Linked DNA regions of Homo sapiens: region 1 is linked to region 2. Evidence: promoter capture Hi-C in 16 types of primary human blood cells and fetal thymus (Javierre and others, 2016). All regions are on one chromosome and are shown on one strand. Each heading gives the region's core, a stretch centred on a gene start or on the middle of the fragment in contact. The rest is flanking DNA. Distances are from core to core; before and after follow the strand shown.

The links. Contacts are between HindIII fragments. The CHiCAGO score rates a contact against its expected background, and 5 or more counts as called.
Region 1: a contact is called between a fragment that was not itself captured here and the fragment with the promoter of ROPN1L-AS1 in region 2, in 3 of 17 cell types (naive CD8 T cells, activated CD4 T cells and total CD4 T cells). The highest score is 9.4, in naive CD8 T cells.

Annotation. Positions count from the first base shown.
Region 1 is chr5:7,876,856-7,883,519 of GRCh38, forward strand. It overlaps MTRR (5-methyltetrahydrofolate-homocysteine methyltransferase reductase), which reads left to right. Exons shown (of 15, transcript NM_002454.3): 5 at 1,089-1,467; 6 at 6,300-6,422. Among named protein-coding and RNA genes, the nearest start is that of MTRR, 11 kb to the left of the region's middle. The HindIII fragment of the contact is 2,641 bases long and covers 2,249-4,889 here.
Region 2 is chr5:10,440,145-10,446,016 of GRCh38, forward strand. ROPN1L-AS1 (ROPN1L antisense RNA 1) reads right to left here and starts at 1,707. Exons shown (of 2, transcript NR_102746.1): 1 at 1,544-1,707; 2 at 591-1,229. ROPN1L (rhophilin associated tail protein 1 like) reads left to right here and starts at 1,735. Exons shown (of 5, transcript NM_031916.5): 1 at 1,735-2,154. The coding sequence starts at 2,024. MARCHF6 (membrane associated ring-CH-type finger 6) reads left to right here. Exons shown (of 26, transcript NM_005885.4): 26 at 1-244. RefSeq lists a silencer at 1,589-1,848. The HindIII fragment of the contact is 3,763 bases long and covers 1-2,684 here.

The DNA of each region.
Region 1 (6,664 bases), core at 2,319-4,818, 2.6 Mb before region 2:
CTCAGTGAACGTTAGTTCTCCTCCTGGTTGTGCACACTATCACCTTAATATTTCTGAGTTGTGAGAGTGATATTTTACATGTAGCTGTTATTGTTGAACTGTAGTTTTATAAACTTGTTTTCACAAAGGCTCCTCAGGGCAGCTCTAATGTGTAACCACATTTTGAGTAGTGTACCACATGAGCACCTCCCGAGCACAGTGAAATGACAACCTGAGTCATAATGACACACGGGCCTGAAATCTGCCTCCTCTTGGTATTCATTTCGCTTTAGGAATTAGAATTTAATTGATCCTCCTTTGAGCTGTGATTAAAAGTGGTGTTATTTCCACAGCCCTGCCACAGTCTTATCCACTGACTCTACTTAAACTTCTCTGTTCAGGGAATGGCTGTTGTTATGATAATTTGTTAGTAGTAGGTGGACTGCCACATTTAAAAAATCTATTTATGATGAATTCAACTTTCCCAAAGGAGGGTTGCTTTTTTTTTCTCCTGTTGTCAGCCTCCCTGGGAATTTTACTAAAATAAAAAAATAAATAAAGGCTTTAACTATTTATTTAGTCCAAGGACTTGGCATTAATCCATAGTGATTTCTTGGTGATATTTTAATCTGTAGGAAACAGATCAGTAGATCAGTAAATTGGCTAGGCAAAAAAAAAAAAAAAAAAAGGTGCATTTGATGGATGGAATGAGCATTTGCAGCATTATGGTAGCCTTGGATTTTGGTTAAGTTCTGTTAGCATTAGTATGCCTATTTAAAATTATATCTTCTTAAAATAAAGTTTACCAATTCTGGAATATTAGGAGGAATTCTATTCCTGTCATCCTATTACTAGAATATCTTCCTATCCCTCTTCATTTCTTCTACCTTTATACATACTCATGTTTTCAGCTACGGTGCTAATGAACACATAATATATCCTGCTTGTTAAAACTTAATCATGAAGTATTTTTTGTATTCCGAATGGTCTTCATAGTGTTTCTAACAAGTGCATACTTTGCCAAATGGACAGACTGTCATTATCCTGTTCTGTGTTCAGATGGAGAACTTAGGCATTTGTTTTGTTTTTCGTTTGTTTTTACTGTCCAGTTTAGAACTTGTGGTTGAGCCGTGGATTGCTGGACTCTGGCCAGCCCTCAGAAAGCATTTTAGGTCAAGCAGAGGACAAGAGGAGATAAGTGGCGCACTCCCGGTGGCATCACCTGCATCCTCGAGGACAGACCTTGTGAAGTCAGAGCTGCTACACATTGAATCTCAAGTCGAGCTTCTGAGATTCGATGATTCAGGAAGAAAGGATTCTGAGGTTTTGAAGCAAAATGCAGTGAACAGCAACCAATCCAATGTTGTAATTGAAGACTTTGAGTCCTCACTTACCCGTTCGGTACCCCCACTCTCACAAGCCTCTCTGAATATTCCTGGTTTACCCCCAGAATATTTACAGGTACATCTGCAGGAGTCTCTTGGCCAGGTAAGGAAGTTTTTCTTTATGCTATAGATGCTATTTAATCATGGATGTTTGCTTTGGGCTTTTAAATTATTATTACATTAGAAGAGAGGTCAACAAACTATGGCTTACTGGCCCAATGTGGCCCAGAGCCTTTCTTTTGTAAATAGATTTTACTGGAACACAGCCATGCCTATTCATTTAGGTAGTGTCTATGACAGCTTTTGAGCTGCAATAGCAGAGTTAGTGGTTACCACAGGGGCCTGCAATGCCTAAGGCATTTGGCCCCTTCCAGTAAAAGTTTTCCCACCCAGGTATTACAAAAGGTCTTGTATTATTACTTCTGTATTTGAAGAAGTAGATAAGAACTCAGTTTCATCATTATTTTGGAGAACTAACAACTTGGTTTCTCATTTTAGATGAGTCAAACAGAGATGAGTTGTGTGGGCAGTGAGTTGAGTATCACATTGCATAATAGCTAATTTCTCCCCACAGGCAGTGTATGGTACCCTGAAGTTTTTCTAACCTGCTTAAAATAAGTTTCCAGAGCAGGCAGTCTTTGAATGCAGGGCTAAGCCCTCTTTCTGTTGAGTGGCTGTTTGGAGTTCCACATGGACTTTTCTTACAAAAACCACACCCTTACTGCAGCTATTACCAGTTTTAATTTCTTGTTTTTTTTAATGAAGACAGATTTAGACATTTAAGAAATAATTTGGATGCAGCATCTTTCTTGTATATTAGCACTGTTTGTAAACACCTGGTATGATAGCAATTTTTTTTAGCATCTTTTATAATGTCTTTCTAAAGCTTTCATGTAAGTATGATTTTGTGTATAAACAACTATGGGCTATTGTTTTTGCACTTGTACTTCATTATTTTGTGAATTGTTTAAGTGAGATAATTGCAGTAAGTGTATCTCAGTCTGGTTTGGGAACAGACACAACTTATGCCTGGACTGGTGGGAGCAGAGTGCAGTGTTGCACCACAGACAGGATCAGTTCATGGCAGCGGGGATAGAGATTAATCATTAATCTGACTAGGAGTTTTAAATTAGCCGGAAGATCTGTTAAGAGTTTATGGGTTTTTTCCGGGAGGCGGAGGTTGCAGTGAGCCAAGATTGCGCCACTGCACTCCAGCCTGAGCGACAGAGTAAGACTCCGTCTCAAAAAAAAAAAAAAAAAAAAAAAGTTTCTGGGTTTTTTCTTAATAGAAAGTGTCATTAAATAGGCTTGAGTTGTTAATAATGTAGTTAAAAGATTTAACAAATCTGAAGTACTTAAGAGAGACAATATAAATATGAAATAATATACTGAGAGAGTAAAGAATTGGGAAAAAAAGAATGTTTTGTAGGGCATCCTCTTGGGACCATTGCCTTGAGGCACAGAGGGGTTGGAAGCAGGATTGGGCACAGTGAGAAGCTGAGCTGCGATGCAGTCTCAACAAAGGCCTCAGTCAGCTCCTCTCCATATGGTACCTTTCTGCCATGTGGAAGTATTACCTCTAATAACCAGAGGGTCTTCTGGGTTGTGTGGTAGAGCGGCAGGACCTGTTAACGAGCACTGTCACTTGGATCTGCTGTAGAGCCCTCTCCTGCTCTGGGCCCCACGCAAAGCTGGTGGCCTTTTCTGTCACCTGGTATTTGGGTCTCAGCAGTCCTCCCAGGTATGGAATGTGCTACCCACAGATCCTGAAGAGACTTAGCAGTGGTTCTGCTTCTCTCTAGAAGTGAGGTACAAGGTGCACTAGTGTGGCCTTCACTTGGGAGGGGATGTCCTGACGTGCACCAAACTGTTAGAACCCTAAAAATTGTGCTGGCACTGCAGGCCCTTTAATTGCATAGGGCATGGGTCTTACCAAAGACCGCACTGTCCTGGCTACTCCTCGTTGCTCATTCAGTCTGATAGCACGATGCCCCTGATAGAGTAGGCTAGTGTGGTGCTTTGCAGGTGTTCCACATTTATTCAGACTCTTATAACAGCAGGCAGGACTTATGATAGCCCTGGGGCATAATTGTAAATTTATACATTGTTCCAGCGCAAAGTGAACTGTTTCTGATCCTCTTTAGTGATAGGGTTGGGAAGGAGCACTTTGACTAAATCATTGTCCGTGTACCTGAGGCCATGCTAGTCTACTTTGTTAAGGAAAACCAGCTTGCACGGAGGTTACAGTGGACCTGTTTCTTGTTTGAGTTTCCAGTAGTTCAGTGTCATCCCCCAGGATTTATGTGGTTTTTGCAGTGGTCAAACTGGTGAATTAAATGGAGATACGATAGAGACCATCCCCTGTGTCCTCCAGCTTTTTAAGGATGTCATTTCTCTCAGGATGCTATTTTGTTTCTCTTGTTCTATCTTGGTGTTTAGGGAGGAGGATGGCGTCAAATTCAGAGACTTCTTCTTGGCCCTCCCCATGATGATAGATCTTAACGTCATAGGCCAATAATTCGGTGTTGCCCTGTGCCAGCTGCTGAGTGGCCACTGGAGGTCCTGGGCCAGGACGCCATTTACCGCCTGGCCCCCATGTGCCTTGCTGTCATAGATGAGCTATGCTGATGCTTTGGGTCCCTGGGTAACAACATTCATTTGAACCCCCTCTTAACAGACCCTGGAATGTTTGCACATTCCCCTTAGCCCAGTGTACATTTCCCCTTTGGGAGAAGGACTGCAGAAGCCATTGTCAAGTACAGTTTCTATAGTGTCTCACAGTCCCTCCTCCTAGGGACCTCTTCTCTCCTACAGTCAGTGGGTTGCAGGTCTGGAAACAGGGCAAAGGATCGTTTTTATTGGAGCAGCGGCCTACAGCTCCTTTTACATGCCTCCTTGATTTCTTTTCATTGTAAGGATTGATCCAGTGCCTTTGTGGGCTGCCCATTTTTTACATCTGTGTTCTGCCCTCCTCAATTTAGGACCTCAGCTGTGTTGTGTGCATTCTCTCCTAGCTCCTGTGGGGGCATAGTGCTCTGTCGTATACTTTCTTAGGGGTTAGTCCCTTACCTTCCTTAGCTAGCCCAGTGCTTTAGTGGCCGAGTGTGTCGCAACAACCCCAGTTATTGGTCTAGCAACCAGAAGAGGGGATGGGGTGTGGTAGTGGGGGTACAGGCATGTGCTGTGGGCAGAGGTCCTTACACCATCCAGATGCGAGAAGGGAGTTCTTACTCTTCATGGGAGGGACTGGCCACATCTGCAGGCTCAAAGAGTTCAAGGGAATCTGGGTAGGAAGATTTTTAAGGGAATCTGGGTAGTCAAGATTTTTAAGGCGTTCTGGGTAGTCAAGATTTTTAAGGGAATCTGAGTATTCAAGATTTTTTTTCCCAGTTAGTCCTTGGCTTTCTCTGCCTTCACTGTCATGGGCTGCATGAGATGACTGTGTCTTTCTAAGCTCCTGAGGATGTCCCCTGGCTTAGTTCTATTTTAGTTTTACTTAGTTCTTAATTGGTGATTTGTCCTTTAAGCTTTTTGCATTTTTTTTCAAGTGCGAGTGAATTTTAGCAGTAGCCCCCCAAGTCCCACCAGTCTTCTCTTCTGCTGTTTCTCTCTAGTTCTCAAGCACCTGATGGATCTTGCAAGGTGATGCATTTGCTTCCACTGGCACTCCCTGCTACTTACGGTTGCATTGTTGCTGTGTGCCAGTGCCGTCTGTCTGCTCTCTCACTGGTGTGGTGTTCTCATTGTCAAACAGGCAGATGATCCAGCTCTAGACTCCATTTTAGCATCTTTCCCAGGCTACCCTGGCACTGACTGTCACAGGCTGGTTCCCAGGAGTCAAACAATGAGATGTTTTTAGGGCATCCTCTTGACAGCATCATCTTTGGGCATGGAGGGATGGAAGCAGGATTGGGCACAGTGAGAAGCTGAGCTGCTGTGCAGTCTCAGCAAAGGCCTCAGCCAATCCCACAGGGTTCTCTGGAGCTGGTGGGTCTTCAGAGTTGTCCTGAGTTGGAACGAAGAGGCTGGACCTTTGTAGTCTTTGATGAGACATTGGATGTGGGTTGCCTCTGAAAGGAGGTGTGGGCAGGGGTAAGGTGTGACCTAAGAATGCTGAAGTGTTTCTTTCAGGTGGCAGAGGTAGTCATTGTCAGCACTGCCATAGCCTTTGCAGAAGGCAGTCTTCTTAGGGGTACATCTCAGTACCCCCACATTATGGCTCCCAGACACCCAGAACTGACCTTCATCCCAGCTTTCCCATATAGCCACTTATCCACAGTTAATTGACTAGTACTGTTAAAATATTTTGTTTTTAAACTTAGGAATATAGAAAAGGAGTAGGGAGTATTATAAAGAACTGGGATTTTTTGCAGTTTTCCAAGACCTACTGTGTCCAGTACAGGAGCTGCTGGCCACATATAGCTACTCAAATTTAAATTAATGAACATTTGTTAAGATTAATAATTAGTTTCTTAGTGACACTACCTGTATTTCACCAGCCATATTTCAGCAGCCATATGAACAGCATTGCCCCACACTAGGGGGTTCCTGTGACCATCTACACACATGTTGCATTCTTAAACATCTGTCACATTCTTCAAGATCTCTCCTTCCTGAAACATTTGCAGACATTCTGTTTCCCTTGACGTAGTTTATTAGGAAAACTACTAGATCTTTACATGAACATGCCAGTATTTTTATTTTCTATTTGTATTTCAGAAATTCTAATGTCTAATAGATAAAGCGTTTGAGATAGAATTGAGCTTCTCTTCTGAAAAGCTAGCTCCATATATCTGCCCTCATTCATTTACCTTGGAAATGAATACTGAGTAGCCAGGAAGTTTTGTAAGCCCCTGTGGATCTTGCGTAGTCACTAATTGAAAGAAGGGTATAATTGAAAATTGCACTTACGTTTTGTCACATTTGTTTTTCAAGGAGGAAAGCCAAGTATCTGTGACTTCAGCAGATCCAGTTTTTCAAGTGCCAATTTCAAAGGCAGTTCAACTTACTACGAATGATGCCATAAAAACCACTCTGCTGGTAGAATTGGACATTTCAGTAAGTTGCAAAATTTATTTCTCAGCACAGTAATATTGTCAGGATGTGCAGAAAGAGTTGTGTGGTGCTTGGTTATATATGCTGAGTGGTGTGCTGCTTGGTTACATATGCTGAGTTGTGTGCGGCTTGGTTACATGTGCTGAGTTGTGTGGTGCTTGGTTACATATGCTGAGTTGTGTGGTGCTTGGTTACATATGCTGAGTTGTGTGGTGCTTGGTTACATATGCTGAGTTGTGTGGTGC
Region 2 (5,872 bases), core at 457-2,956:
TTTTAAACTGAATTATTACTGTATTCCCAGAACAATTCCCTGGCAAATATTTGGTACTCAATAGTAATGCTAAGTTAGTAAATAAATGATGAATTTAGAATCAAAATAATGTGTCTATGGCCAAAATAAAACCTGAAATCCCTGTCCTATTTCCCAGAGGTAACTGCTGTTAATAGTTTAGTTGTGTGCTTCCAGACATACCTTCACAGAATCATTTATCACAATAAAGGTGTCATACTATGCAGATTGTTTGACAAGATGCTTTTTTTCACTTTACACGGGCATCTTTTCATACCATTGTGTGGCCAGGCCATGATTTGTTTTCCAAAAGACATTTACCCAATTTATATGGTGAAGATTTTTGTCCATATTACTTTTTATAGTATTTCTGTAGGGTAAGTTCCCAGAAGTAATATTGCACGATCATCGAAAAATTTTAGTGTTACATTACTGCCCCATAAAGGTACTAATTAACATCCCTCTCAACAACATAGAAGATTCCTTTTTTTTTTTTTCTTTTTTTGGGTGGAGGGGGGCGGGGACAGAGTCTTACTCTGTCGCCCAGGCTGGAGTGCAGTGGTGCCATTTCTGCTCACGGCAACCTCCACCTCCCGGGCTCAAGCTATTCTCCTGCCTCAGCCTCCCAAGTAGCTGGGAATACAGGCACGCGCCACTACGCCCAGCCAATTTTTGTAGAGAAGGGGGTTTCACCATGTTAGCCAGGCTAGTCTCGAACTCCTGACCTTGTGATCAGTGCTGGGGTTACAGGCGTGACCCACCGCGCCCGGACGGATTTCTTGTTTTCATACTGTCATCAACTTTAAATACAAGTATTTTCAGTTTTTGCCAATGCTGTTAATTTAGAAATGTGTATGTATATATTGTCTGGTGGGTGTTTGGATGGAAACGATCAAAATCGGGCAACTTCCCCAGTTTCCTTGAAGGGAGTGCTTGCCATCGGCCCCTCTGGGAAGTAGCTCTCCGTAGTTCTCCATCTTCCTGTTTTGAGGAACGCAGGAGGAGGTGGATCTGGAGTCTCATCCATTCGGTGGCTGTTAACGGCAACTGCAGCAGCCAGCCAGGTCACCCCCTAAAGCAAAGTTAACCCCTTGCATGGTGCCTTGGTCAGCACCCACCAAATTCGAGGTTTCTCCTATCCTTCGACTCGAGGCTCTTTTGACAGATGTGATTTATTTCCTCCTAGAGCCAGTCACATTGGCTCAAGCAACCTATCGTAAGAAAACAAATACAATAGTGTTTTAGCTGGAAACTGCCCACTGTCTAAGCGGCTTTTTAAATTAAGAACTCAGGTTCACTACGGGATGGCTTAGGCCAGGGAACAGCATGTGCGAAGTTCGAAGCCCGAGAAGTTTGGAGGAGCGGCCCCAGGCGCAGGCGGGTCCCGCAGCGGGGCCCGTGCCGCCCAGGCGATCAGCCCCTTCACTTAACCCGCTTCCCTCCTAGCAGGCCCGAGTCCCCTAGCCTCAGCCTCACGCAGCCAGAGCAAGGGGAAGAGGGAGTCCTTCGTGAGTTCGCCGCTCACATTCGGCGGTGGGAAACCGATCCGAAGATGCTTTTGTAGGCGAAACGCTCAGCTCGCGCGGCTCTGAACCACCGGGGAGCAGCGGCTGCTGCTAGTCGGACTACGCCAGCACCTCCTTGTCCAGCCCGGGAGCAGCCCCGCCTCGCTCAGGGCCGCGTGCGCGTGCGCGGCTCCAGGGGCGGGGCCTGCTCGCGTCCCGGGTGCCTGGATACCGAGCGCGTCCGTAGTGGCGGCTGGCGCTAGGGAACTGCAGGGTCTAGGGTGTTGTCGGAGTGGCAGTTGGTCCGAATTTCTCCCGAAGCCCGCGGAGGAGCGGGTAAGAGCCCCGCGAATCCGGCCCCAACCTCGGGAACGGGATGGGAGGCGGCCCTGGCCGCAAGCCCCGCGCTGCTAGCGGGTCCACCGCGTCGTAGCCGACAGCCGCCCTTCTTCCTCGCAGCGCGCCGCGATTCACCAGCCTGGTCCCTTCTGCGGAGAGCGATGCCGCTTCCCGACACCATGTTCTGCGCTCAGCAGATCCACATTCCCCCGGAGCTGCCGGACATCCTGAAGCAATTCACCAAGGCTGCCATCCGCACCCAGCCGGCCGACGTGCTGCGGTGGTCCGCGGGGTAAGCGCCCTTGGCCCGGGGAGCTGTCCGGTCTACATGCCCAAGCCAGACGAGCCCAGAGAGCCCTCCTCCCGGACCAGGGGCCTTACGCGGCACTCAGCGTCCTTAAGAGTATCAGGCAAAACTTTCCCCTTAGCATTGGTGACATCTATACTTGAGTGTTTTATCTAGGAACCATTTCGATTTATCGACTATGAGACCCGAAATCATTGCAAAATGCTCACTTACCTACAACGTAATGGCAACTCAATTGTTTAAAAGTGTTTATGATGAAGATAGACTAAAACTTAACAAAGTAATTGCATTGGGCAAAAAAGTGTTTACATTATGTTAAAAAAATTACACGGTTGCAGTCACTTTGTGAAATGACTTTACAAAGAGGAATATTTTAGCTAAGTTCCTCATCTGCAGAGAGTCCTCTCAGAGCTATGTATACCCAGAGCTGGTTAAATTTATTAGAACCGGAACGACCGTGGTCATACTGAGGTCATCATCCCTAGAGTGCTCAGGGTAAACTGTCCAGCAAATGAAGCTTCACAGTTTATTTTTTGCCACAAACATTCCAACACTTGCCAGGAACAGACATTCATAATCTCAAAGTTACAAGTCAACAGATCTTAGAGGCATTAAAAGAAATCCTCTTGGTTTTACAGGAGAGCTCTTTGCCCCTTTTCAATAAACAGATGTAAAACAAAAACTCACTTTTATGATGACAAGAGTCAGCACAGGTGTAAATTTAATTTAAATATTTTAGTCATCAACATTTCAAATTTTGGCTGGGCTTGGTGGTTCATGCCTGTAATCCCAGCACTTTGGGAGGCCAAGCTGGGAGGATCACTTGAGCCCAAGAGTTTGAGACCAGCCTGGGTAACACAGCAAGACCCCATCTGTATTTTTTTTAATAAGAAAACTAATTTAAAAAGAAAAAAAACAGCCAAATTTTGCTGGCTTTAAACTCTATAACCAAAGTGAATTAGTTTCGTTTGGCTGCTGTAACAAATCACCACAAAACTTGACAGCTTAAAACACAGACATACATTTGGGCCGGGCGCGGTGGCTCACGCCTGTAATCCCAGCACTTTGGGAGGCCGAGGCGGGTGGATCATGAGGTCAGGAGATCGAGACCATCCTGGCTAACAAGGTGAAACCCCGTCTCTACTAAAAATACAAAAAATTAGCCGGGCGCGGTGGCGGGCGCCTGTAGTCCCAGCTACTCGGGAGGCTGAGGCAGGAGAATGGCGTGAACCCGGGAAGCGGAGCTTGCAGTGAGCCGAGATTGCGCCACTGCAGTCCGCAGTCCGGCCCGGGCGACAGAGCGAGACTCCGTCTCAAAAAAAAAAAAAACACAGACATACATTCTTGCAGTTCTGGAGGCCAGAAGTCCAAATTAGTTTCACTAGGCTAAAATCAAGGTGTTGACAGGGCTTTGCTCTTTCCAGTGGTTCTCAGGAAAACCCAGCTCGTTTCCTTGCCTTTTCTGGCTTCTAGAGCTGCATTTCTTGGACGCCTTGGCTCATGTCCCCTTCCTCCATTTTCAAGGCCAGCATCTTCAAATCTCCCTCTGCCTCCTTCTTCCAAGGACACTGGTGATTGCATTCAGTGGCCATCCAGATAGTCCAGGGCAGTTTTCCCACCCGAGATCCTTATCAGTCCACAAAATCCCTGTTACCATGTAAAGTAACATTCCCAGGTTCCTGGAACATGGACCTGGATACCTTTGGGGCTGTTATTTTACCCACCAACTGAGCTACTTGTCCATCCAGTGCTTGCCTTCTGAGAAATGCTTTTATCAATGGTTTCTGAAAGACTCTTTCAAAGTTCTTGCTAAAGAAATATAGCCTCTGGTTTTAACCATTATTCAAGCTTAAATAAAAGGATTTATAAGAGTTTGTGCTGTACAAAAAATTCCAAGATTTAGCAACATCTTCTTGGAACATTAAACTATATTTAGTAATACCTTAGAGATAGTTATGTTAAGCTTCACTTTGTTTATTTATTTATTTATTTTTGAGACGGAGTTTCACTCTTGTTGCCCAGGCTGGAGTGCAATGGCGAGATCTCGGCTCACGGCAACCTCTGCCTCCCGGGTTCAAGCGATTCTCCTGCCTCAGCCTCCCAAGTAACTGGGATTACAGGCACTTGCCACCACACCCGGCTAATTTTTGTATTTTTAGTAGAGATGGGGTTTCACCATGTTGGCCAGGCTAGTCTCGAACTCCTGACCTCAGGTGATCTATCCACTTGGGCCTCCCAAAGTGCTGGGATTACCAGTGTAAGCCACCGCACCTGGCCTAAACTTCACTTTAAGAGGCTTAATCAGGCTGGGCATGGTGGCTCACACCTGTAATCCCAGAGTTTGGGAGGCCAAGGCTGATGAATCACCTGAGGTCAGGAGTTCGAGACCAACCTGACCAACATGGTGAAACCCCATCTCTACTAAAAATACAAAAATTAGCTTGGTGTGGTGGCACGCATCTGTAGTCCCAGTTACATGGGAGGCTGAGGCAGGAGAATTGTTTGAAACCGGGAAGCAGAGGTTGCAGTGAGCCAAGATCGTGCCACTGCACTCCAGCCTGGATGATAGAGCAAGACTCCATCATAAAAATAAATAAATAAATAAGAGACTTAATCAGGAACTTTCCGAATGTACCATGCTACTAATTTCTCTCAAGAGCCATTTATTTATTTATTTTTTAGATAGAGTCTTTTTCTGTGGCCCAGGCTGGAGTGCACTGGTGCTATCTAGGCTCACGGCAACCTCTGCCTCCTGGTTCAAGCAATTCTGCCTTAGCTTCCCAAGTAGCTGGGATTACAGGTGCGTGCCACCACGCCCAGCTAATTTTTGTATTTTTAGTAGAGACGGGGGTTTCACCATGTTGGCCACGCTGGTCTGGAACTCCTGACCTCAAGTAATCTGCCCTCCTGGCCTCCCAAAGTGGTGGGATTATAGGCTTGAGCCACCGCGCCTGACCAAGAACAATTTGTGAGTTTAGGAGAAAACCCAGGTATTATTCATTCGGCAGTATATATGTAATTGTAGGTTCAAATATGTTTCAGCTGTCACAGGACAGAATCTGTTAGGGAGAGCTATTCAAAAGTAACTTGAGTAAGGCGGGACTTGGTAAGTGCAAAAATGAAGGGTCACGAAAGTTAAGCAAAGTAGTGGCTTGGTCCTTGAGAGATTTTGTAGGCAGAGAGATTGGGGCTTGGGTGGGGTGGAGAGGATTCCAGGAAGAGGAAGCAGCACAGGAAGAAGGGGGTGGAGACAGGAAAAAGAAAAACCATCAAAACCAAAACAGGAAACCAGGATACCCACGGACATAACTGCTATAGAACAAGCAAGTAGGCTGAGCACGGTGGCTCACACCTGTAATCCCTACATTTTGGGAGGACGAGGCGGACAGGTTACTTGAGCTCAGGAGCTCGAGACCAGCCTGCACAACGTGGCAAGACCTTGTCTGTACTAAAAATAAAATTAGCCGGCCATGGTGATGCATGTCTGTAATCCCAGCTATTCAGGATGCTGAGGCAGAAGGATCACTTGAGCCCAGGAGTTGGAGGCTTCAGTGAGCCATGTTCACAACACTCTACTCCAGCCTGGGTGACAGAGCAAGAGCCTGTCTAAAAAAGAAAAAACAAACAAACAAAAAAGATGAAGCAAGTAGGCATTCCTCTTTCCTCAGGTTAGGGTTCTTTTCAAAGGTGCTTTTCAGGTGGG